Linked DNA regions of Homo sapiens: regions 1, 2, 3, 4, 6 and 7 are each linked to region 5. Evidence: promoter capture Hi-C in 16 types of primary human blood cells and fetal thymus (Javierre and others, 2016). All regions are on one chromosome and are shown on one strand. Each heading gives the region's core, a stretch centred on a gene start or on the middle of the fragment in contact. The rest is flanking DNA. Distances are from core to core; before and after follow the strand shown.

Region 1 (2,984 bases), core at 417-2,916, 180 kb after region 5:
CTTTGGAAGGAGGTATCAGGGCAACAAGAAGCAGCTGACTCATTGCCAACACCCTGTTAGGCACTCAGCAATGGATCCTAAGCATGCTCCTGTTTCACCTGGTGAAAGCAAATAGTATGTTTCTTTTCTTATCTGTGCTTCTGCTTGTGAGTATATAAAAGAGGAAAAGTGCTACAAGGCGATGCTTTAGAAATTGAATTCTATTGCCCATTATAAATGGCTGCATGCTAGAATCAGGGGATCTTGGTAAGCCTACTAAAATGCATTCTGTGATACAATGGACTTTGGGAACTTGCAGGAAAGGGCAGGAGGGGGTAGGGGGCGAGGGATAAAAGACTGCAAATACGGTGCTGTGTAAACTGCTTGGGTGATGGGTGCACCAAAATCTCACAAATCACCACTAAAGAACTCACTCTTATAACCAAACACCACCTGTACCCCAATAACCTATGAAAAAATAAACAATATAATAATAATAATAAAGTAATGTCCAAAACTGCAAACACACAGACACACACACACACACACACACACACATATTCCGGAGACCTTGGATCAAAGGCAGTGTTCACAGATTCATAGAAAAAACAACAATATAATAATAGCTACCTCTATTTAGTTCTACTTCTTGGCTAGTCTAGACTTTATTTAGTCTTCATTCCATTATCTGAGGACTAGAAATACCATTTGACCCAACCATCCCATTACTGGGTATATACCCAAATGACTATAAATCATGCTGCTATAAAGACACATGCACACGTATGTTTATTGCAGCATTATTCACAATAGCAAAGACTTGGAACCAACCCAAATGTCCAACAATGATAGACTGGATTAAGAAAATGTGGCACATATACACCACGGAATACTATGCAGCCATAAAAAATGATGAGTTCATGTCCTTGGTAGGGACATGGATGAAATTGGAAATCATCATTCTCAGTAAACTATCGCAAGAACAAAAAACCAAACACCACATATTCTCACTCATAGGTGGGAACTGAACAATGAGATCACATGGACACAGGAAGGGGAATATCACACTCTGGGGACTGTGGTGGGGTGGGGGGAGGGGGGAGGGATAGCACTGGGAGATATACCTAATGCCAGATGACGAGTTAGTGGGTGCAGCGCACCAGCATGGCACATGTATACATATGTAACTAACCTGCACAATGTGCACATGTACCCTAAAACTTAAAGTATAATAATAAAAAAACAAACAAACAAAAAAAATCAATAACAAACCTTGCAAATTGGGCATTTTTTTTTTCTTATGCTGTGTTTGAAGCTCAGAAACATTAAGCAACATCTCTAAGACCACATAAGTGCTAATGGCAGAAACCAGCTGAATGTTTTCCAGATACATTAAGGATTACCCAGACCTAGTCCCCTAAGTTTATACAAGAGATGCTGAAATTTACAACAGGGAGATTTAGACAAGATAAAATAGTGAGTGTAAAGTGTTCAGCTGTGGATTTTTAATACAACCAACTCTGATGATTCATGATGACTGAAGGGAAAGTTACTTTGATGGTTACCTTCTTGAGGGCCAGAAAAATGTCTTTTTTTGCCCACATTAGTGGTGACACAGGCTAGGCATTTAACCAATATTTGCTAATGAAAAGACAATATATAACATTGAAAACAGAAACATACAGAAGTCAATTTATATTTGGTTTAAAAATACATGGTTTTCCTCAGCAATTTATGTTCTTAGGAAATTATATCTTCTTTAGGATTACCATAGCCAGTTTGCCTTTATTTACTTATTTTTTAAAAATTTTAACACTGTGGTGAAAATTGGAACCAGATGTATGTTGCTAGAAGCCAGCTGAAGATGCAAAATGCCAATACCCCCAATGTACAGGCAGGTCATAGTTCTCAAAGTGATATCCCCTACTCTCGGGGCTCAAAGCTCACTTCTTCAAGGAATCCCAACTCCTTTCATAACCAGTCTGTTGGCAAAACCTGATTCCCATTGATGGATAAGATGTGGCAGGAAGAGATGAAGGGGTTGGAATGCCAGTGGGAAAAATGTGGTACCCCTTACCAGTCATCAGACAGAAGCCAGCTCTAGCGAACCATTCTCACACTGGATCTCTAAGGCACTCAAGGCATATCTCAAAGCTAATAATACACTGAAATCAAAGTAACATTTAGCAAAACTGACTTAGCTTAGCAGAACTGGCTCCAAGTTTGGGGTATCCTTGCTCCCCAGTGTGATGGCAGCCTGCTGTCATGTCAGACACCTACCTGTCAGGTTAGGTGGGGAAAACACTTACTTAGCAATGAGGCATGAGCTGACATTCAGGGACAAGAGCAGAGAGTCTGCCATGCAGCACTGGAGAGAAAAGCCCTTCCTTCCACACTGACAGCCAGGAATGCCATTTTCTTGCTCAATGAGTGCAAATCTTTTCACTTCTACCCAAAAGCACTGGAGCCTGACTGTACATCCTGACTTTCCCCTGAGCTGAGCAGGCTGAAAAGACTGGCATGGGTTTAAAAAACATGATCAATTTAGGCATGCGGCGTCATCAGCAAATGGAACATAAAGTTAATTGTTTCACCAGAGGAAGAAGAGCTTCAGCAGCTTTCTTCACCAGTCGGGTTGGGAGTGCTTCACGTGCCCTGAAGCTCCTCAATCACCAATAGTTTTATGTCAGGGGGTCCATTTCCAAAAGGTATTTTTCAGTGTGACATTAATAATTTATGAATAGGCCAGCACACAAAACTGTATTTGTAAGAGGGACTGAGTGGTGGGATAAACAGGAACTTAACTTCTTAGTAAAAGCAGAAGGATGAAAACATAAAAAGTAAAATATTTTTTAAAATTCTTGCAATATGCAGAGTATAAATATTATCTCACATCTACTGTCAATAATCAGAAAATAAAAAAGAATCATGTAGGGTCATGCAACGAAAAGTGATACTTCGTACATCCTTTCTCCTGTTATGTGCTCTCTGAGCATCTGCTTGGA
Region 2 (3,403 bases), core at 705-3,204, 220 kb before region 5:
AAATAGGTGTTTATTTTGAAAACATCCAAAACATCCAGCTACCATACACTGTTGAAGGTGAGAAAATGGTGTCAAGGTACAGCCTACCTATCAATATACTCTTCAAGATAAATAATTACTTATATAATAACTTCCCTCTAATTCATTTCAGGACAGAAAGTATTAGGTACTAAAGAATAAAGCAAATAAATCAACACTCATCTTAATGCATTCCTTCCAAGTGCCATGTATACATGTGAAAGTAAATATTTTAAGTAAATATCAAAAGATGGGAACTTGCCTAGAGATTTACATGTAAATTTAACAGCAAAATCAAATTGTCATATTAAGCCAATGTTTCTTAATATCTAAAGTCTAAAGTTGTTCTGGCAATATTAACCGTACTGGCAGGGGAGGAGAAGGAAACCCTAAAATAGATTTTTTTTTCCCTGAAAATGGAAAGTAACAGACAAAAAAAAAAAAAAAAAAGAAAGAAAGAAATCTAGAATGTCATCTTTGAGACACAGTGATGAAGACACATGTCAGTGCCTCCTACAGGTACAAAATGGTAACATACCATTAGAGGAGGGGAAACTATTTCTTGGCTTAAAATGTGATACTGAAGTTCTTCAAGAGACTCCTACCAACTTGTTCCACCAAGACTTTTCTTCCTGTCCTGTCTCTGTATTTTTGATAGCCATTCACATATTCTGAGGAAATTTAGAGCTTCTCCCTAGTAGATATCCTATGAAAGAATTCATTAATCTTTTTCCTTCTCTCATATGTCACTATAATCCACATGTACACCTGGGGGCTTCCCAACTCCATTATCTCTGTAAAAGCCAGCATTTCTGTGGACTGCTCCAGTGGACATTGGCCCTTTGACCTTTAATCAAGGGCTGGCAGGAGATCCTAGAGTATGGTGGAATGAGCTTAGAATTTTGAGCCTATTGAACCTGGTTTCAAATACCAGTTAAAAGTTGCATGACTGTGTGCAAGCCAATTGTGTGACCTCTCCCTGAATCTCAGTTTTAAAATGTATACGATGGAACAAATAATAAACACTTCACGAATGAGATGAATATATTTACTAAATACCTGACATATAAAGATCAAAAAATAGCAAAAAATAGCAAAAATAGCAGTATATATAAAATTGTACCTTGTAAATGAGCTGGCTTCAGAATAAAGTTTTTGTTTGTTTGTTTTGTTTTTTGGTATTTCAGGAATTAAATCCTCTTTGATGTAGTACAAAATGGAAACCACCTTATACTGCACTGAATTCATTCTCATGGTGAATGCTATTCACTAGGGTTCCAGTGTTCTGTTAGTTTCTTTCCATTCCAGTGGGAGCTCTACTAGAAATACTACTACACAAGTGGCATGCCAGTCAATTTGATGACACAAATACTTGGTGCTACCTGCTATGTCCCCCAAATATAAATGAGCATGAATACTCCTACTTTCAAAGACAAAGCAGTTAGGTTGTTGACTTAGTAAATAGCTACTAAAACAAATTGCCACACTACTCAACTTATGTGACGGATGATTCTCCTGCAAGTTGGCTAAGCACCAAAATGTCAAATTCCAAAGAAAAGCTACACTTTAGAGATAAAAACTAGATATTTACCCAGTCATCAGCCACCACTGGGCAAAATCCTGCAGAAACTCCTAGATCTCTGCCATCTGCCTGTTCGTCTCATTCCATGTTCAAGGCAATTATGTCCATTCCCATTTGTCAATTTCAGAAGGGGTGGTTTCTACCTGCTATGAAGTGGTGCTTAAATGGGCAAAATTATTCAAGGGCTTCAATCTTCCTAGCTGGAAAACCCAAATAATATAGGACAGAGGTTAAAAGCTTAAGATTTAAAAAAAGAAAAAAAGCTTAGAATCTGAAGTCAGATGGCCAGAGTTTGAATCCCAGTTTTATGAGTTCCCAGCTAGGTGACTTTTGGCAGGATAACTGATCTTTCTGTACCTTAATATGCATCTATATAACAGGAATGAAATAAATCATAGTAGGCATGCCATTGACGATATAGCCTCTGTTTAACAGTTCAACCAAGAAAGCTTTCTTGTCATAAAATGGGATCACCTTTGTCTTTTATTTGTAATATATAACAAATATTGTTATGTTTATGTTCTAGACCATACCTTAATTTTCTAAGATATCTATTGGCCAATTATTTTTTTAGGTAGGTCTTTCAGAATAGTATTTACGTGACTCTGAGATATTTCCTTCTCCTTGACTAAGGCAGGAGAAATTTTCCAAAAATATTTTGTAAGGAGTTTGCATCAAGCAAAACATGTTTCCAGGAACATCTTCAACCCTTTTTTCTTTTGCCTTGAGACACAGTCTCACTTTGTCGCCAGGCTGGAGTGCAGTGGCACGATCTCATTTCACTGCAACCTCCGCCTCCCAGGTTCAAGCGATCCTCCTGCCTCGGCCTCCTGAGTAGCTGGGACTACAGGTGCGTGCCACCACGCCCAGATAATTTTTGTATTTTTAGTAGAGACAGGGTTTCACCATGTTGGCCAGGATGGTCTCGATCTCTTGACCTCGTGATCTGCCCAGCTTGGTCTCCCAAAGTGCTGGGATTACAGGTGTGAGCCAACATGCCCAGCCCCCTTTCTTACTCTTTCTATTCATTAGTTTCTCTCTTTCTCATTGCTTATCTGACCTCTCTTTTTGATCAAATATCCATAATTTAAAGGATTATTATCAAGAAACTGATAAAATACAATAAGACTATTATATTTAAATATAATGCCTCTTCTCGGGCCTGGCACGGTGACTCACGCCTGTAATCCCAGCACTTTGGGAGTCTGAGGCGGGCGTATCACCTGAGCTCGGGAGTTTGAGACCTGCCTGACCAACATGGAGAAACCCTGCCTCTACTAAAAATACAAAATTAGCCGGGTGTGGTGGTGCATGCCTGTAATCCCAGCTACTCGGGAGGCTGAGGCAGGATAATTGCTTGAACCCAGGTGGTGGAGGTTGCGGTAAGCTGAGATCACGCCATTGCACTCCAGCCTGGGCAACAAGATGAAACTCCATCTCAAAAATAATAATAATAATAATAATTAATAATAAATAAATAAATATAATGCCTCTTCTCAGACCACTAATTTTTAAGAACATAGTAAAAGCAAAAAGTCTGCAGACTTGCAGAACCCAGACAAACATGCAGTTCATAGAAATACACATGAAGTCATTTTCACAGAGGTTATCATTTTATGCTATAATGAACTGTGTCAAGATTATGGTGAAAATAAAAATGATAGATGATATAATAATAGATTAAATAAAACAATTACATTCATATAGATTCATGGTCCTTGTGGATGGAGACAGCATGAGTTTCAGATCTTCAAAATTGGTTGCTTAACAGCTTGGGAAATCGGCTGAATAAAGTAATATAAT
Region 3 (3,113 bases), core at 354-2,853, 160 kb before region 5:
GACTGTACTGGCTTTCTACATTGTACTCCATGAAGAAACAAAAATTTTTTTTTTAAAAGTTGTAAGTTTCTATACTTATAACCAAAGAGGCAAATTATATTTTGGGGGGAGCCTTATTGATTTTTGGACCCCAAATAAGATAAGGATTAAATCAATGTCAGAAATAATAATATGAATACACATTAGTTAAAAAACCTAATTGTATTTGAGATCATTTCCTTATGGAAACCTTTTCTGAGAGCTAATCAATCCCTCTGTAAAAGGAGAAAGTGAGAGAAGAGGTAATGTTTTAGAGTGTTATCGTGACTGGTTATTTTAAGGGAAGAACAGAAATAACTTGGCAACCAGGAGTCAATAGGAATGGAAGTCTTTCTGAAATGATTTGTATATTTCCCTACCTAAATTGGCCTCTTTTACTCATCTATCTTTCACATGTTATACAAAGCCTGTTTATGAAAGTGAGAATATAGGTTCAGGGTCTCACAGCAAATGGGATAATGGCATAAGCAGACTCCTGTTTTTGTGATTTTCTCAAAAGACATTTCATATTTTGTAATTCAGTAACCACAGCACCAATTTCTGAGATGTAAACTTGATTCATGTATTCATTCATACATTCATACAAACTAGACCCTGGGAACACAAGGGAAGAATGAGTCATGGCTCTGCCTTCATGGAAGATACCTGCTGCCTATGGAAAAAGACAAATAACAAGAACCAAAGGAATTATGACTGTGATAGAGACATAGACAAATGACTATATACAAGCCACTCTTCTGGCTACTCTTGATTTAGAAATTATCCTCTTTATGTAGACCACTTCCTCTGCTGGTAGCACACTTAATAGATGACGTGGACTATGTCAGGTCTATAAGCTACAACCCATGGCCAAATCTGGCCTGCCACCTGTTTTGGTACAGCCTGCAAGCTAAGAATGATTTTTACACTTTTAAAGCATTAGGAAAAAAAAATCAACAGAAGAATAATATGTGAAATTCAAATTTCAGGTTCTTAAATAGTTGTATTGGAACACAGCCACACTCACTCATTTATGTAAGATCTATAGTTATTTTCAAGCTACCATGGCAGAATTGAAGAGTTGTGACAGAGACCATATGGCTCACAAGACCAAAAATATTAACTATTTTGCTGACCCTGGTTTAGATGGTTTGGACCTTATCTAACATAAGAGTAAATTAAACCAATGTCAGAAATTATTAGTATCAGAACACATAAAAACACAGCTCCTAGTGGCTTCCAAAAGAACTAATTCGGTAATTACCCTAGGAAAATCACCCAGCACACATCAGTCATAAAAATCCTGTTTTTAAATACACATCACCACATTCTGTCTTTATTAAATAGCATACACATTACTGGTATAGGTAATAAATTATGAAATACTACAATGTTATCTGAATACAAAGTTAGTGTCAAATTACTTTTAAAATATAGTTGGTTCATACTTGTTCAAAAACTATTCGGCAAACATTTACAGAGTAGTACTGCCTTCCAGGTAGCCTGCTAAACAGCAGAAAAAGGAAGATGAGAATGACAGTCATTTAAGGAATCTATGTTTAGAAGGAAAATATAATCAACCCTCAAAAAATATGGTGAGACACCAGGCGCAGTGTCTCACACCTGTAATCCCAGCACTTTGGGAGGCCAAGGTGGGCAGATCACTTGAGGTCAAGAGTACAGCTTGGCCAACATGATGAAATCCCGTCTCTACTAAAAACACAAAAATTAGCTGGGTGTAGTAGTTCATGCCTGTAATCCCAGTCACTTGGGAGGCTGAGGCACAAGAATCGCTTGAACCAGGAGGCGGAGGTTACAGTGAGCCAAGATCATGCCAATGCACTCCAGCCTGAGCAACACAGGGAGACTGAAAAAAAAAAAAGTGGATGAGAAGGCATTTCATAATAAAGCCTCAATATTCTTTTCCCCACTTTCAGTTTTGCATTGGCTTAAATGAGGTAAGCCATGGAAAATGGAAGATGGATTTGTGTAGACCAAAGAAGTTCATGAATTTTATAGTAAAATAAAGGTTATTCATCAATTGACATATTATAAGCCATATTTTGTAAATGACTGAATAGTAGAGTTAGAAAGCCAAATATTAAATAGCTTTCAATATTGCCAAGAATGTCTGTGTTTTAATTATCTTAATTAATTTGCCTTTCTTCTTTTCATTCACTTTCCCCACTGTGTCCAAATAACGATTCCCTCTTTTGTTGCTCCAGTCTTCCAGGGATTTGTAGACTGTCACCTTATTTTGAACTCTGATCCAGCTGGCTCCTCAGCTGTCACTTAGCCAACTATACCAATTATATAGAGATATATAGTTAGATAGATAGATATACATATATATACATATATCTGCTATAATCTTTCCCTATAAGACCATTCAGCTAGCATAACCATGCTAGACTGCCATTCACTGAATAAAACCTAGTGTTTTACATTGAATAGGGATACATCCTAAAGGCTGGGACCCCAGATTATAGGAGAAATGATCATTCTGCTCCCATGATTCTGCAAATGGTTTTTCTTAGCACTGTGAGCCCCAATGAAGCAAACAGCCTCATCAAGTACTCTCTCAGCTACTCTGCTTTCTCCACTCCACCTATCTCGTATCTAATCTGTGGGTCACATGTATGGTGACAGTGCCACCGTGGAAGACTCAAATGCTTATGACTCAATGTGCCAAACAACCAGCGCCAAATTACTGAGAGTGAATGATGCCTCTGCTCCCATTTCAGATTAGAGTGTGTTATGCAGCCATGTAGTTGGGTCATCCCTGCAACTGTTTTATCACCTCTCCCATTCTTTAACATTTCTTATAAAACCAATATATTATGATGCCTTCAATATTGTCATAATAATAATACATACAATGTATTAACAAATAAACTCTCCTGTAGTCCCAGCTACTCGGGAGGCTGAGGCAGGAGAATCACATGAACCCGGGTGGCGGAGGTTGCAGTGAGCCAAGATCGCACCACTGCACTCCAGCCTGGGGGACAGAGCAAGACTCCACCTCAACAACAACAGAAAAAATAAAAATAAAAATAAAAAAACTGTTATTTACCGAAAGATTATTATGTGCCTGG
Region 4 (3,199 bases), core at 197-2,696, 140 kb before region 5:
TTAAATACTACTTATTCTGCCTTATTTATTTATTTATTTATTTATTTATTTTTTTTTTTTTTTTTTTTTTTTTTTTTTTTTTGAGACGGAGTCTCACTCTGTCACCCAGGCTGGAGTGCAGTGGCTTGATCTCGGCTCACTGCAAGCTCCACCTCCCGGGTTCACGCCATTCTCCTGCCTCAGCCTCCCGAGTAGCTGGGACTATAGGCGCCCACCACGACGCCCGGCTAATTTTTTGTATTTTTAGTAGAGACGGGGTTTCACCAGGTTAGCCAGGATGGTCTCGATCTCCTGACCTTGTGATCCGCCCGCCTCGGCCTCCCAAAGTGCTGGGATTACAGGCGTGAGCCACTGTGCCCAGCCAATTCTGCCTTATTTAAAGCAGTAAATATTTGACTGTAAACTACCTATTGTATACAGCTCTGTCTCTTCCTGATGTCCAAACTGTTTATTAAGCAAAAATAAGTTCTATACCATGGTGGTATATAAAAGAAGGAAAATGCGAAAAGCAGACCCAGTCCAGAGGAGTTACCATCTTTATTGGGAAGATAAGACTTTTACGAATGAAATAATTAGGGAAAAAAACAAAGCGGCCACATTTATTACCAAAAGCCTCGGGGCAGGGTCCAAATCTTTTATGAGAAGCCCCATTATTTGGAATCCAAACTAAGTAAAAATGTGAACAACTGAGATTTGGTCCCTTCCTTGTCATCCCTGTACTGCCACCCAAGAAGATCCTTTTATACTATTTTAAGAGAAATTGAAAATAATAAACAAGTAGATTGTCCTCAGGAATTTAATATTTCTTAACGGAATTGAACAGAGTTTTCCAGGGCAATCTCTTCCACCATTCGTTTCCATAGTATTGTATAGCAAATGGTTGTTTAGCCCAACAAACTAAAAATGTCAACCACAGCCTTGAGACCCTCTAAATTCTATAAAGTGAAACGTCTCACTTTGAAATATGCACATTGATCCCAGAGACGCAAATTCTCTCACTTTTAAGGCTATTGTGAAACTAACTCCAGCTTCATCTTTATGGAGCTGTTTCAATGTATAATTTAAGAAATCACTTCCAAATACTGAAAAATCCGTGAAAATCCTGCATAAATTATGCATGTTTGCGAGTCCCCTCCCTCATGTTGTGACAGATCTGAGCTATGTGGTGGTGGCAGTGGTGTGTGTGTGTGCGCGCGCACGCGTGTATGTGCATGCACATGCACACATGGTGTGGTTGAGATGGAAACCTTTCTCGCAAGCTTATTGAATATTTCCACCTCCTACAGAGCACTCTGAAGAAATGCACTTTTTCAACATTCAGATGAATGTGAATCAGAACGGCAGTTCTCCCAGGACTCATCTTTTATATTGAACGTAGGGTCACTGACAGGATTGAAATGGATCCAAGTTACCTTGATTAGCTGATTTTTAAAAGATTAGAAGCAGCCAGCTATGGACCGGAGGAAGGAGAACTGATTCTAGTGTCTGCTCTACCACAAAAAAGCCATGAGAATTTTAACATGTTACTTCAACCCTCTAAACCACAGTTTCCTTTTGTGTAAAATGAGGGATAAACCAGATAGTCTTTAGGTGGAATTCATGAACTGCCAGCCTGCAGACGTATTTGTTTAGCTAAGCTTAACCCCAAGATCTTTTTTATACTGGAGCACTATAAAGAGGTTTTATGGCATGACTCTCAAATTTTAGTGCATGACAGACTCTCCCAGAGAACCTACACCTGGGCTGTACCCCCAGAACTTCTGACCTAATTGGTTTGAGGCAGGGCTCAGGAATCTACATTTTTTTTTTTTTTTTTGACACGGAGTCTCACTCTGTCACACAGGCTGGAGTGCAGTGGCGTGATCTCAGCTCACTGCAACTCCGCCTCCCAGGTTTAAGTGATTCTCCTGCCTCAGCCTCTTGATTAGTTGGGATTACAGGTGTGTACCACCATGCCTGGCTAATTTTTTTTGGTATTTTTAGTAGAGATGGGGTTTCATCATATTGGTCAGGCTGGTCTCAAACTCCTGACCTTGTGATCTGCCTGCCTCAGCCTCCCAAAATGCTGGGATTACAGGCGTGAGCCACCATGCCCGGCCAGGAATCTGAATTTTCAACAGGGGCTTTCAAGGGATTCCAAGGTACTTGGTCCATGGACCACACTTTGAGCATAGTGGGTTAGTTGAAATTCTTGGTGATCTAAGTGCTCACATCACAACTTAGCAGTTACAAACTTCATTGAGTGGAATCCAAAATCTGACTTAAATGAACCGGAATCACACACTAGAGGAGAGCACATGTGCTGGATGTATCCATGGAGTGCAGCAGTTCTAATGCTGCCACTTTCTGCCACTCACAAGCGGTGAATCCTGGGTAATCCGTTTTTCCATCTGGAAAAATAAGGGCAGCAGGATCATCTCACAGGATTCTCAAGAGGATGAGAAATCTCAGGGGGGTTACCTAGCATGATTCTTGGCACAGAGAAGATCCTCATGCCCTGTTATGTCTTCTCCTGGCCCCATTCCCTTCAGGGGCACTGCACTGCATGGAGCTGGCCTGCCCAAGAAGCACGAGGACACCAGGTGTGCACATAGCTTGCCTCTCGTGACCTCACCTGTGCAGGCTTGCCCTCAGCTTCCCGAAAGAGCAAAATGATCTTAATTTGTCCTGTTTGGGGAGGGAGTGGACTGCAACCACCTGCACTCATTTCAAAACAGACCACTCACTGTAGAAACTGAAAAGAAAACACATTTATTACTCCTCTCCCACAATACTACTTCACCTCCCCTGCCCTCAAAGCCTTAGTAAGTGGGCAAATTCCTAAAGTGGAAATTATATGATAAACTTTGGCCAAGCCATAAAACACAGCCGGGACTAAGGTCACAAAACAGTTACTGATGTATGTTCCCTGATCAAAGCCACTCCATGACACTCACTTTTAGGAGTCAAGGGGACTACAGAAACTTACAGGAAGAAAAAAAAGCAACTTTGAAGATAAATTAGAGAAGCAGTCTACTCATGGTCAAAAGACATTACTCTTTGAGCTTTATATATTAATGAAGATTAAATTCGAAGTTTATAAGCTCTTTGTGATTATTAATAATTCAATTACAAGGAGGTACAGAAGCCATTCAAATTAATATTGGCGATGAAGGGCTAAAGAATGCTCAGCACCCCTGCTCTCCACCAAAAAACCCAC
Region 5 (3,271 bases), core at 194-2,693:
TGATGCTGGCTTTGGCCAGCATCGCCTGGCCGATGTCAAACCCCACGTCCTCGGTGTAGTCAGGCCAAGTGCCGGAATATAAATTAAAAATTAAATGATTCCTACCATTGTTCCACAAGTGGAGACTCTGCACTTTGGATCTCAAATTGTGCACATACTGAGGTGACAACTGGTCTCTGTCTAAAGTATCCAGACTCAGGACAAAGAGGCACGCCTGGCTGGGGTCCGAGGTGTAGAACCTGGAGCCCTCGATGGCCGCTAGAATGTTTTGGTAACTTTCGGCGATTTTCTCCCCTTTTTGCTGTGGGTATACGTAGACTTTGAAGCCGTTTTTCTTGCAAAGGGTGAAATCGAAGCAGGACTCCATGCGGCACTTCTTGCCTTTGTAGATGCTGGAGTTGGCATCTCGCTTCTGCCGGGGGGAAATGTGCACGCTGGAATCCTCGTTTTCCAATTGATCCCAAGGAACGAAGGGGCGCAGAGCGTCCGGGAAGCGGGGCCAGAAATGATCCGGACTGGGGTGGTGCAAGCCATTCCTACCGCTGTGTTCTTCTCTCCGGCTGTGGCTCCTCGATGCCCTAAACTGCAAGCCTCCGAAATAAAACAAAAGGGCGAGACAAGAGCCAGCTGAGAGCAGGATGAAATAGCGTTTTTTGGCCTGCATGTGTCCTGCCTGGGTCAAGAGGATTGTAAATAAACACAAGAATCACCCAAGTTTCCCAATCAACACTTTCAGCTCCAGTCCGCCATCTTCCCGCCTGTAAAGACTTCAAACTCTCCGCTCCCACCTTCTCTGGATGCCTTTCCCCAAGCCGTGGACTGATCCAGCGCATGTGGGCGATTTCTTTAACTTTCTCCCCTTCGGTCTTTCATCTTTGGGTTGCACAATGCACGGGAGAGAGCGGGGCTGAATATCTCGCACCCAGGGCGGGCGAGCAGCGGACTGTAATTTTCTTGCATGCAACAAGACGGAGGAAAAGAAAGAGAGAGGGGAGAAAAAAAAAGCTCCCGATACCCAATCAATGGCAAGACGAAGTGATTGCCTTGCCTCTCGGATTCCTCTCGGCAGCGTGGAAAATGAGCCCCGGGAAGGCAACTTCAACTCATCCACCACTCTCCGTGCAGAGCACTCCGGTTCCAACAAGTCAGCCGATCCCGGGTTCAGCCGGCTAGTGCATCTTGCAGCTGGGGCGCCGTAACCTCACAAATCCCTGCATCTCTCTTTATTCCCTTCTGCAGCGGCTCCAAGACTCCGGCGGTGTTTACTCCTGCGCTCGCGGGGCCGGCCCCCGGGACGCGCGGCGGCCCGGCTGGAGGCGGCGGCGGCGGCGGCGCTGGGTGGCGGCGGCGGCGCGTCCTCCCCGCGGGCAGTGCCGGCCCCGAGCAGCGCTTCGCAGGCCCCCGCGCGAACGCTGCCGACCGCCGCGTTCGGTCGCCGAATGTTACCCGGTTCTGAATGTTACACTTACACATTCCATTCCCGACACGACAGCGCTGACCTCATCCATCCACGCAGCCCGCGCTGCCATTGGCCGAGCGTCACGTCCGGGGGGGGCGGTGCTTCCGCTGCGCCCATTCATAACCCCCGGCCGCGGGCCGAGGCGCCGGCGCGGCGTTGGGGGCGTAGGGGGCGCAGGGAGCCGGGGCTCCCGGGTTGCAAGCTGCCGGCGGGCTGCCGGGCAGGTGGAGCGCGGGACGGCCCGGTGCGAGCCCCGCGGCCCCTCGGCGCGCCCAGGCCCGGATCTCGGCCTGCGCCGTGCCGGGGACCAGAGGCGCCTGCGGAAACGCGGCGGCCGGGGAAGGAGGCACCGGCAGGGGCCCCGTGCCGCGCGGCCCCGGGCGCCCTGGAGAATCTGGCCTCCTGGGCTGCCTGCCGGAACGCCTAGAGAAAGATGCTTTGAAGGAGGGAAGCAGGGAGGAAAGGAAGACTTCATAGAAAGCGACCGCCGATCCGAAAGCTGCCTCTCCCAGCCCTCCTTCCACTCTCCGAGACCCAGTATTTCAATTTTCTGCTAAGCATTAAAACAATCTCCCCTTACTCCTCCTCTACATAGCACATTTTTTTAAACCAAAGAAACACCCCAATGCCCAACAATAAAGAGGAATTATTACAATCAAGAGGAATTGTTGCAATTCTTCATGCCTGCCTCTGTGCTAAGAGTGTAAGACGGCTATCCTAAATCCTCATTATCTACTTAGGCCGCCTTGCCTGAGCCCCCTCTGTCTATTATGAAGAAAGCTTCCAAGAGATCCAATCACAGAGAAAAAATAAATTTTCTAATGGCTGCAGGGAAACCAGTTAATTTAAGCTTGCCCCAGTCCTCAAAGTGATGTTATTCTCTTGGTGGTGGTGGTGGTGGTGGTGGTGTTAAAGATATCTCTTAAGGACATATGACTGGTAGAATTGCCAACTGTCCCAGCTATAGAAGGAACACTTGCATCAGGAAAACTACCTTATGTACAATTAGTGCCAAATAGTTGGTCCTTCCCTCACTGACCTCCCACTCCTTGGCCCAAGCTCCTGCCACTCCCAGTGGAAGAACTTCATTAGATAACTCAGGTAACCGAGGAGCAGTCCCGCTAAAGATCCTCCAGGTCCACAAAGATGTGCTAGGCTCCCAAACAGTATCTCTGGTCAAAGTCAAACTCCCTGGCCTCAGATCCTGAACACTGCTTTACAGAAAACACCTCCCACCCTCTGGCCTAGCTAAAGTCTCAGGGCTCGGGCAAGCTAGACAGTTGCCTAGGGCAGCCGGCTGTTTAGTGATTGTTTATTATGGGAGTGACTGAGAGCTAGGAGCAGACACTTCCCGGCTTCCCTCAGGCTGCAAAAACCCCAGCGGGGTGTGGATGAAGGGCAGGGTTATAACAAGGCAGTATGAAATGATAGAGTGGAAAGTTTCAGACCTCTGTTGTTTCAGATTTGTTTTAATAAAGCAGGGAAGGGGCATGGGTGGGACATTACTATACATTCGTGAAGCCTCTCCCTATTTCTGACCTGCCAAAGATGAGACAGCTTTTCCAGATTTGACTTGAACCCCCTGCACAATGTAGAGAGGCCTGGGACAGGAATAAGGATTCAGTCATCTTCCAAATACAGTGACAATGATGCAGATAAAGGCAGTGATTGAAACCACATGTGACCCAAAGCTCCCCCCAGCCCAAGTTGCTAAGAACAACAGTTCAAGGCAGGAGGCCTTCTCTTCTGATCAGGGTGCAGATTATCTCAGCCCTGTGAAGTGGGGCTGTGGGACTGGAGGTGCTCTCTCTC
Region 6 (3,249 bases), core at 678-3,177, 240 kb after region 5:
GACTGTATAAGCAATAAAGTGATACGCGCTAAGGTATATGGTAGAGACAGAGATACTGATGAGAATGCACAGGTCTGGAAAGGTTAGTAGTGGTACAATGAGGAGGGCCAATTTCTCAGAGGACAGAGTGGAACCTGAGCTGGGATTTGGAGAGGTCAAAAAGGACAAAGATATAGAAGAAAGACATAAATGAAGGCATGATGCAGCATAAGCGTGGGGTGTAGACAGTGAGGAAGACAAACTGCTTAGAGAATTATCTGTCCAACTAGCCAATGGGGCAAGGAGCCAGTTAAACCAACTAGTCCCTGGTGGCTTGTTGGAGTAAGATTGTATTAACTGGCAACAGGTCAAGAGCAGTGAAAACAAGGTCAAAGGACAGGGTAGGTTAGTCTAGGCATACAAAGTAGGGGAGTAAAGTGGAGCCGGCTGGACTGCAGGAGACACAGTTCCCCACCCATGGTAGAGGATATGCAAATATAACTTTTGGCATCTGGAAAACACATAAAAGGAAGACAAGTCAGCCATGAAGAATGTGGAGGAGGAGGAGTACCAGGAAAGGTGCTGAAAGAACAGATGCTGGGGCTAACCACCGTCTCCATTTGGCTTGTCCTGCACCGCAGCAGCCTACTTGCTCTCTGGAGACCCTTGGTGCATCTGTTTATTCTGTAAAATGAACTCAGGGAAATCATAATTATCGAGGGATGTCACAGGCTCCGGCATGAGGCCCCAAAAGCCATATAATCCCTTTAGTAGGGTTTTCTGATTAGATGTAGTAAACAAACTTTATAAAACTATATAAATTATATATGTAATTTTATTATAATTTCATACACATGGTAATATAGATTTATACAAATAATTTTAATATGGGCTAAAGAGCTAAATCTAAAAATGGAAGAACATAAAGGATGGTTATGTCTTGAGGCTACTGTTTCCAGGCTTATCCTTCCCAACTGAATATTCCAGAAAGGTGGTAGAAATGTACTAGTCAGTTTTGCTCTCTCAATATATATTCAATCTATGTGTCCCAGGCAGGAAGAAAGTGCTATTCCACATGAGCCTTCGGAACCCTAACATTTTTCACCAAAAGCCCAGAATAATTATGTGGGCTAATGTCTGCCTCTAACTTGTGGGATTGAACAGCTCCTCAGGGCTGCATGCTGTAGAACAAATGACCCATGAGATGTTAAACGGCATTGAGAGGGAAATAATTTTCTGGATGTGACAGGGGGTCTCTAAGAGCAACCCCAGGTTCTGCGATTCACTAGGAGAACTCACAGGACTCAGCATATAGTTGTATTCATGGCTAAGATTTACTATAGCAAAAGGATACAAAGCAAAATCAACAAAGGGAAAAGGCACCTGGGACAGAGTCCAGAGAAAATCAGGCATGAGCCAACAAGAGTCCTTCCTTTAGTAGAGTCATACAGGATGTGTTGAATTCCTCTAACAAGGAGTTGTGACAACACATGTGAAATGTCTATGAGGCAAGCTCATCAGAGACTCAGTGGCCAAGGTGGCTGTTGTTGTCAAAGACAGGGTCTTGCTCTGCTGCTCAGGCTAGAGTACAGTGGTGCAGTTACAGCTCACTGCAGCCCCGAATTCCCGGACTCATGGGATTCCTCCTGCCTTAGTACCCCTTTACCCCCATGGCCCACCTTGAATAGCTGGGACTACAAGCACGTGCCACCATGCCTGGTTAATTTTCTAAAACTACTTTGTAGAGACAGGGTCTCGCTGTGTAGCTCAGACTGGTCTTGAACTCCTGGGCTCAAGTGATCTTCCTGCCTTGGCCTACCAAAGTGCTGGAATTACAGGCATGAGCCACTGGGCCCAGTCTCAGTGTCCAAGGTTTTTAGTGGGGATCCTTCCTAGCATGTGCCAAAATTCTAGGCTCCCAGAAGGAAAGCAGGTGTTCAGCATAAATGACACTGTTTATACAAACAGTTCAGGCACAGTGAACCATTCTGGTTAGGGAGTGTGGGAACCCTCCCAAAACCCAAGTTTTCTAGACACCAGCAGGGGCCAACCTTGCAATCACAACCTTCTAAGGAAAACAATCTAAGGCCTGCTATGTTAACTGCTTTCTCCACAATGGTCTCAAATATGTGTAAAATGTGGGGAAAGGTGGGAAAAGTCTGGATACTACAGCTTTTTGAAGATTAATAATGCATATTAGCATATTAAAGGGTTTGAGAAGTACTACACTATAAAAGGCTGTTTTTTAAATGTATATTTTCCAAACCTATTTGACTATAATATTTTTTAAAAAGAACACTTATAACATCCTGTTGATACAAATGTTCTACAGAATACAATTTGTGAAATCCTGGACTAAATGGATAAACTTCCATCACTTGTCTGGCTTCAGTTTTCACCATCATCAAACACACTAGTAATAATAACTAGCTCTTACATAGCTCTTACTGTGTGTTAAGAGCTTTTTTATAGAATAACTTATCTAATAAGAGGTTGAACTAGGCTACCTCTAAGCATGGCAAAGTGGCACAGTCAGGGGTTAACATTGCACGCACTGAATCTGACTGCCGGGGCTAGTTTCCCAGCTGTGCCAGTGATCAGCTGTATAGCAAGCTCCTTAACCTTAGTGTGTCTCAGTTTCCTTACCTGTAAAACAAGAACAGTGCTTAGGACACATCAACTGCTACAACTGTGTTTATTACTCATTTTTATTTTTTATATTTTTTGAGACAAGGTCTCAATCTGTGGCCCAGGCTGGAGTGCAACGGTGCCCTCTCGGCTCACTGCAGCCTCTGCCTCCCAATATCAAGTGATCCTCCCACCTCAGCCTCCCAAGTAGCTGGCACTACAGGTATGTGCTACCATGCCTGGCTAAATTTTTGTAGAGACAGGGTTTTGCCATGTTGCCCAGGCTGGTCTCGAACTGCTGGCCTCAAGTGATCCACCTGCCTCGGCCTCCCAAAGTGTTGGGGTTACGGGCGTGAGCCACTGCTCCTGACCACTTATTACTTTTTTTTTTTGAGATGGAGTATCGCTCTGTTGCCTAGGCTGGAGTGCAGTGGTGTGACGTCCGCTCACCGCAAGCTCCGCCCCCCGGGGTTCGTGCCATTCTCCTGCCTCAGCCTCCCGAGTAGCTGGAACTACAGGCGCCTGCCACCACGCCCAGCTAATTTTTTTGTGTTTTTAGTAGAGACGGGGTTTCACCGTGTTCGCTAGGATGGTCTTGATCTCCTGACATCGTGATCTGCCCACCTCGGCCTCCTGAAGTGC
Region 7 (3,376 bases), core at 23-2,522, 180 kb before region 5:
ATTAGTGCCCTCCTCCTCCAAAACCAAAGAATCATAAGCAGGCTCAATAGATTTTTCTAGTAAGTCATCATGACAGATTCCCCATTACTGCTTCTATTAGGGACATAGGGGATGAGACTGAAGGAGTATGCCAAAGGTGAAGATCTTCCCAGAAATTCCTAACTATAAAGCTTTCACAGCCGGATTAACATGCTTCTCTCAGCATGGATATCTATCCGTATATGGGTATGTATCTCAATATGGGCATCTATCTGTAATGTGTCTCATAGAAAAGTGTAAGAGCAGCCAGGCGTGGTGCCTCACACCTGTAATCGCAGCACTTTGGGAGGCCAAGGCAGGCGTATCACCTGAGGTAAGGAGTTTGAGACCACCCTGGCCAACACAGTGAAACCCCATCTCTACTAAAAACACAAAAATTAGCTGGGCATGGTGGCAGATGCCTGTAATCCCAGCTACTTGGGAGGCTGAGGCAGACTTGCTTGAACCTGGGAGGCGGAGGTTGCAGCAAGCCAAGATCGCACATTGCACTGCAGCCTGGGCAACAGAGAGAGACTCCATCTCAAAAAAAAAAAAATAAAGACAGAAGAGAAGAGGAAGAGTTTGCCAAATGGGTGATCTTGTCATTGATCAAGAAGTGCAAGACTACCTATCACTCATTGTCATCCCAACCAGTGGGACCAGTCAACATCTTTCTTGAGATATTCACACCTCAAGAGGAAGAAATGAAGTACCAAATGAAATGTGGGGAGCGGAAGGGTGGAGAATGACAAGTGTCAGCCATCATTTCTCCCCAGGCTATGAAGACAGGCTTAAGCAACTAAATGCAAATTAATTACTTTATTCATATATCAAAAAAAAAAATAGGACATTTACACACACAAGCAAGACTCAAAGACATAAAGACTTCTACAGTTGGAAGATTATAGACTTATCTCTAAATATCCACATCTGGTCAACCCCCATCCCCAAAAAAACCTTTTCTAAAAATGGATCAGTGCTAGAGTGATGTGGGAGAGGAGAAGAGAGTGTGATGGTGAAGTGTCCATCAAGTTTTAAATACATATTTCTATATTTATATAAGTAACATGACAAGTTGACAAAGTCCTTTCCAACAGGCAGACAGATTTGTCAGAGGTGTTTGAACCACAGTGACTCCATCTTGAGTAGGGGCTGGGTAAAATAAGGCAGAGACCTACTAGGAGGCTGCATTCCCGGAAGGTTAGTTGTGTTTAGTCATAGGGCGAGATAGGAGATCAGCAGGATACATGTCACAAAGACCTTGCTGATAAAACAGCATGCGGTAAAGATGCCAGCCAAATCCCACCAAAACCAAGATGGCAACAAAGGTGACCTCTAGTCATCCTCACTGCTCAATTATATGCTAATTGTATTGCATTAGCATGCTAAAAGACACTTCCACCAATGCCATGACAGTTTACAGATGCCATGGCAATGCCAAGACGTTATCTTATATGGCCTAAAAAGGGGAAGAATCCTCAGTTCCAGGAATTGCCCACCCATTTCCTGGAAAACTCATGAATAATCCACCCTTTGTTTAACACATAATCAAGAAATAACCATAAAAATAGGCAATCAACAGTCCTCGGGGCTGCCCTGCCTTTGGAAAGCCATTCTTTATTCCTTTACTTTCCTAATAAACTTGCTTTGACTTTATTCTATGGAGTCGCCCTGAATTCTTTCTCTCACAAGATCCAAGAACTCTCACTTGGCGTCTAGATGGAGGCCCCTTTCCAGACATGGATACATTTCCTGTATATACTCACACAGACATACATATGCCCTTCAAAGGAGGCATGCTTAGAAATAAAAATAAATAAATAAATAACTGATATATTAGCAATTGATAAATCTTTATAAATTATAAACTACAATGATATATATATTTTGTGTGGGGCGGGGGTGTGGGAGGTCTATGAGAGAGGGAGGGAAGGAGGAAGAGAAGGAGATGGAAAAGGGGGAGGTGGGAATAAGAGAGGGGGAAGCCAGACACCTAGGCGTGGTTATTGGCTACACATTGAGCTGGCTGTTTTACCAAGGTTATCAGTCTTTCAGAGATCAATAATAAAATGATATGAAGAGAACGAGGATACCTATTTTCAAAAATATGCTTCCAAAGATGTCTGTTGCCGGACATGCTGGCAGAGAATAGCTGCATGATGCAAAATTCCATTACTTTATCATATCCATCTATGTTTTAGGTATATTTCTTTACCAGGACATCATAGCCTTAAAAGTCACTCAAGGTTTCTATTGCAGCTAAGGTCAGAATCCTAAAGTTGTGCATTCACTCCCTCTGGGTCCTAGATTTTTGATCACTTGAAATGTTCTGTTTGCAAGTCGAAGCAGTGAGTCTCAAGCTTAAGTAATTATGGACCATATATGAAGAAGAAAATGCCCACGCGGAAAATAAGTCAAGTGAATGCATTTACTTTATTTTTATTGAAATGTAACTTATTATGCACAAATACAAATTTTTTAAAACAAAAGCAATTTAAATTATTTCAATTCGAAATTACGTAGTTTTACTAAAACTCAATTGTCCATATTGAATTTTGCAGTAGAAAAATAGAGTCTCAGGCCAAGTTATATATTTGAGGTTTTTGGGGGGGTGCTTTAACTTCTAAATGTTAGAGTGTCTATTTACATAAGCATGAAAACTATTGAACAGAAAAGTTATTAGGAACTTCAAAGCTTTGCTTGCAGGTTAAGGATAATCAGAATTCAACTTAACCAAATGCTGGCTGGGGAGCAATCCCTTCATACTGATTTTACAGATTTACCTGGTAAATCTGAAAAGATATTTTGTTCACAGAAGACTAGTTTTGAGGAATTAAAAACTGCATTAAATGGCATCTAAACCAATTACTGAGTCTGGGGGCAGGAAGGGAAATGCTATACCATACAACTGCTAAGACTACTTCTAACAAATGTAGGAGGCTGTTACGTAAAAATGGGAATCCCACTCAAAACATAAACATAGTACTGCCCGCTCACCAGGGTTCTTGGGTCTGCCCACACCTCACTGTCCCACACTCACTTCCCTCCACCCCTCTTTTTTCTATTCAAATACTGCAAAAATCTTTTGGATTTCCTGAGCCTTCGTTTTAGCACATGACAATTATAGGAACATACCTGCACAGAGTTAAGAAATCCATGGCTTTGCTTAGTGCTAGTTTCATCGAGATGACCCAGAAAATACTTTTATGACTGTTCTTAATTTGATTATAATCAAAATGAAAAATGTAAAGTAAAAAAGAGCTTGGATTTCCATCCAAGGATAGCCAAACTCCAGTCAGTGAAGCCTAGAGCTGGCTGCCAGGGCAGCACTCAGAGTGGCTGAGTAACCTATCCAAGG

What was found. The method cuts DNA at HindIII sites, captures the fragments that hold promoters and counts their contacts. A CHiCAGO score of 5 or more calls a contact.
Region 1: a fragment that was not itself captured here is called in contact with the fragment with the promoter of EXT1 in region 5 in 1 of 17 cell types (monocytes); the score reaches 5.1 in monocytes.
Region 2: a fragment that was not itself captured here is called in contact with the fragment with the promoter of EXT1 in region 5 in 14 of 17 cell types (M2 macrophages, monocytes, M1 macrophages and 11 more); the score reaches 17.6 in M2 macrophages.
Region 3: a fragment that was not itself captured here is called in contact with the fragment with the promoter of EXT1 in region 5 in 2 of 17 cell types (monocytes and endothelial precursors); the score reaches 9.5 in monocytes.
Region 4: a contact is called between a fragment that was not itself captured here and the fragment with the promoter of EXT1 in region 5, in 1 of 17 cell types (monocytes). The highest score is 7.1, in monocytes.
Region 6: a contact is called between a fragment that was not itself captured here and the fragment with the promoter of EXT1 in region 5, in 2 of 17 cell types (fetal thymus and endothelial precursors). The highest score is 6.2, in fetal thymus.
Region 7: a fragment that was not itself captured here is called in contact with the fragment with the promoter of EXT1 in region 5 in 2 of 17 cell types (monocytes and endothelial precursors); the score reaches 8.5 in monocytes.

Annotation. Positions count from the first base shown.
Region 1 is chr8:118,291,840-118,294,823 of GRCh38, forward strand. The region is part of intron 4 of LOC105375724 (a long non-coding RNA gene); the gene reads left to right. It also overlaps a transcript of SAMD12 not described here. Among named protein-coding and RNA genes, the nearest start is that of EXT1, 180 kb to the left of the region's middle. The HindIII fragment of the contact is 3,735 bases long and covers 1-2,984 here.
Region 2 is chr8:117,885,045-117,888,447 of GRCh38, forward strand. The region is part of intron 1 of EXT1 (exostosin glycosyltransferase 1); the gene reads right to left. Among named protein-coding and RNA genes, the nearest start is that of SNORD168, 34 kb to the right of the region's middle. The HindIII fragment of the contact is 186 bases long and covers 1,862-2,047 here.
Region 3 is chr8:117,950,867-117,953,979 of GRCh38, forward strand. All of the region lies in intron 1 of EXT1 (exostosin glycosyltransferase 1), which reads right to left. Among named protein-coding and RNA genes, the nearest start is that of SNORD168, 32 kb to the left of the region's middle. The HindIII fragment of the contact is 5,777 bases long and covers 1-3,113 here.
Region 4 is chr8:117,968,506-117,971,704 of GRCh38, forward strand. The region is part of intron 1 of EXT1 (exostosin glycosyltransferase 1); the gene reads right to left. Among named protein-coding and RNA genes, the nearest start is that of SNORD168, 49 kb to the left of the region's middle. RefSeq lists a silencer at 1,480-1,539. The HindIII fragment of the contact is 378 bases long and covers 1,258-1,635 here.
Region 5 is chr8:118,110,383-118,113,653 of GRCh38, forward strand. It overlaps EXT1 (exostosin glycosyltransferase 1), which reads right to left and starts at 1,444. Exons shown (of 11, transcript NM_000127.3): 1 at 1-1,444. The coding sequence starts at 664. RefSeq lists silencers at 1,297-1,386, 1,487-1,866. The HindIII fragment of the contact is 5,337 bases long and covers 1-2,237 here.
Region 6 is chr8:118,345,390-118,348,638 of GRCh38, forward strand. The region is part of intron 4 of LOC105375724 (a long non-coding RNA gene); the gene reads left to right. It also overlaps a transcript of SAMD12 not described here. Among named protein-coding and RNA genes, the nearest start is that of EXT1, 240 kb to the left of the region's middle. The HindIII fragment of the contact is 6,948 bases long and covers 1-3,249 here.
Region 7 is chr8:117,929,543-117,932,918 of GRCh38, forward strand. All of the region lies in intron 1 of EXT1 (exostosin glycosyltransferase 1), which reads right to left. Among named protein-coding and RNA genes, the nearest start is that of SNORD168, 10 kb to the left of the region's middle. RefSeq lists an enhancer at 1,266-1,823. The HindIII fragment of the contact is 2,208 bases long and covers 169-2,376 here.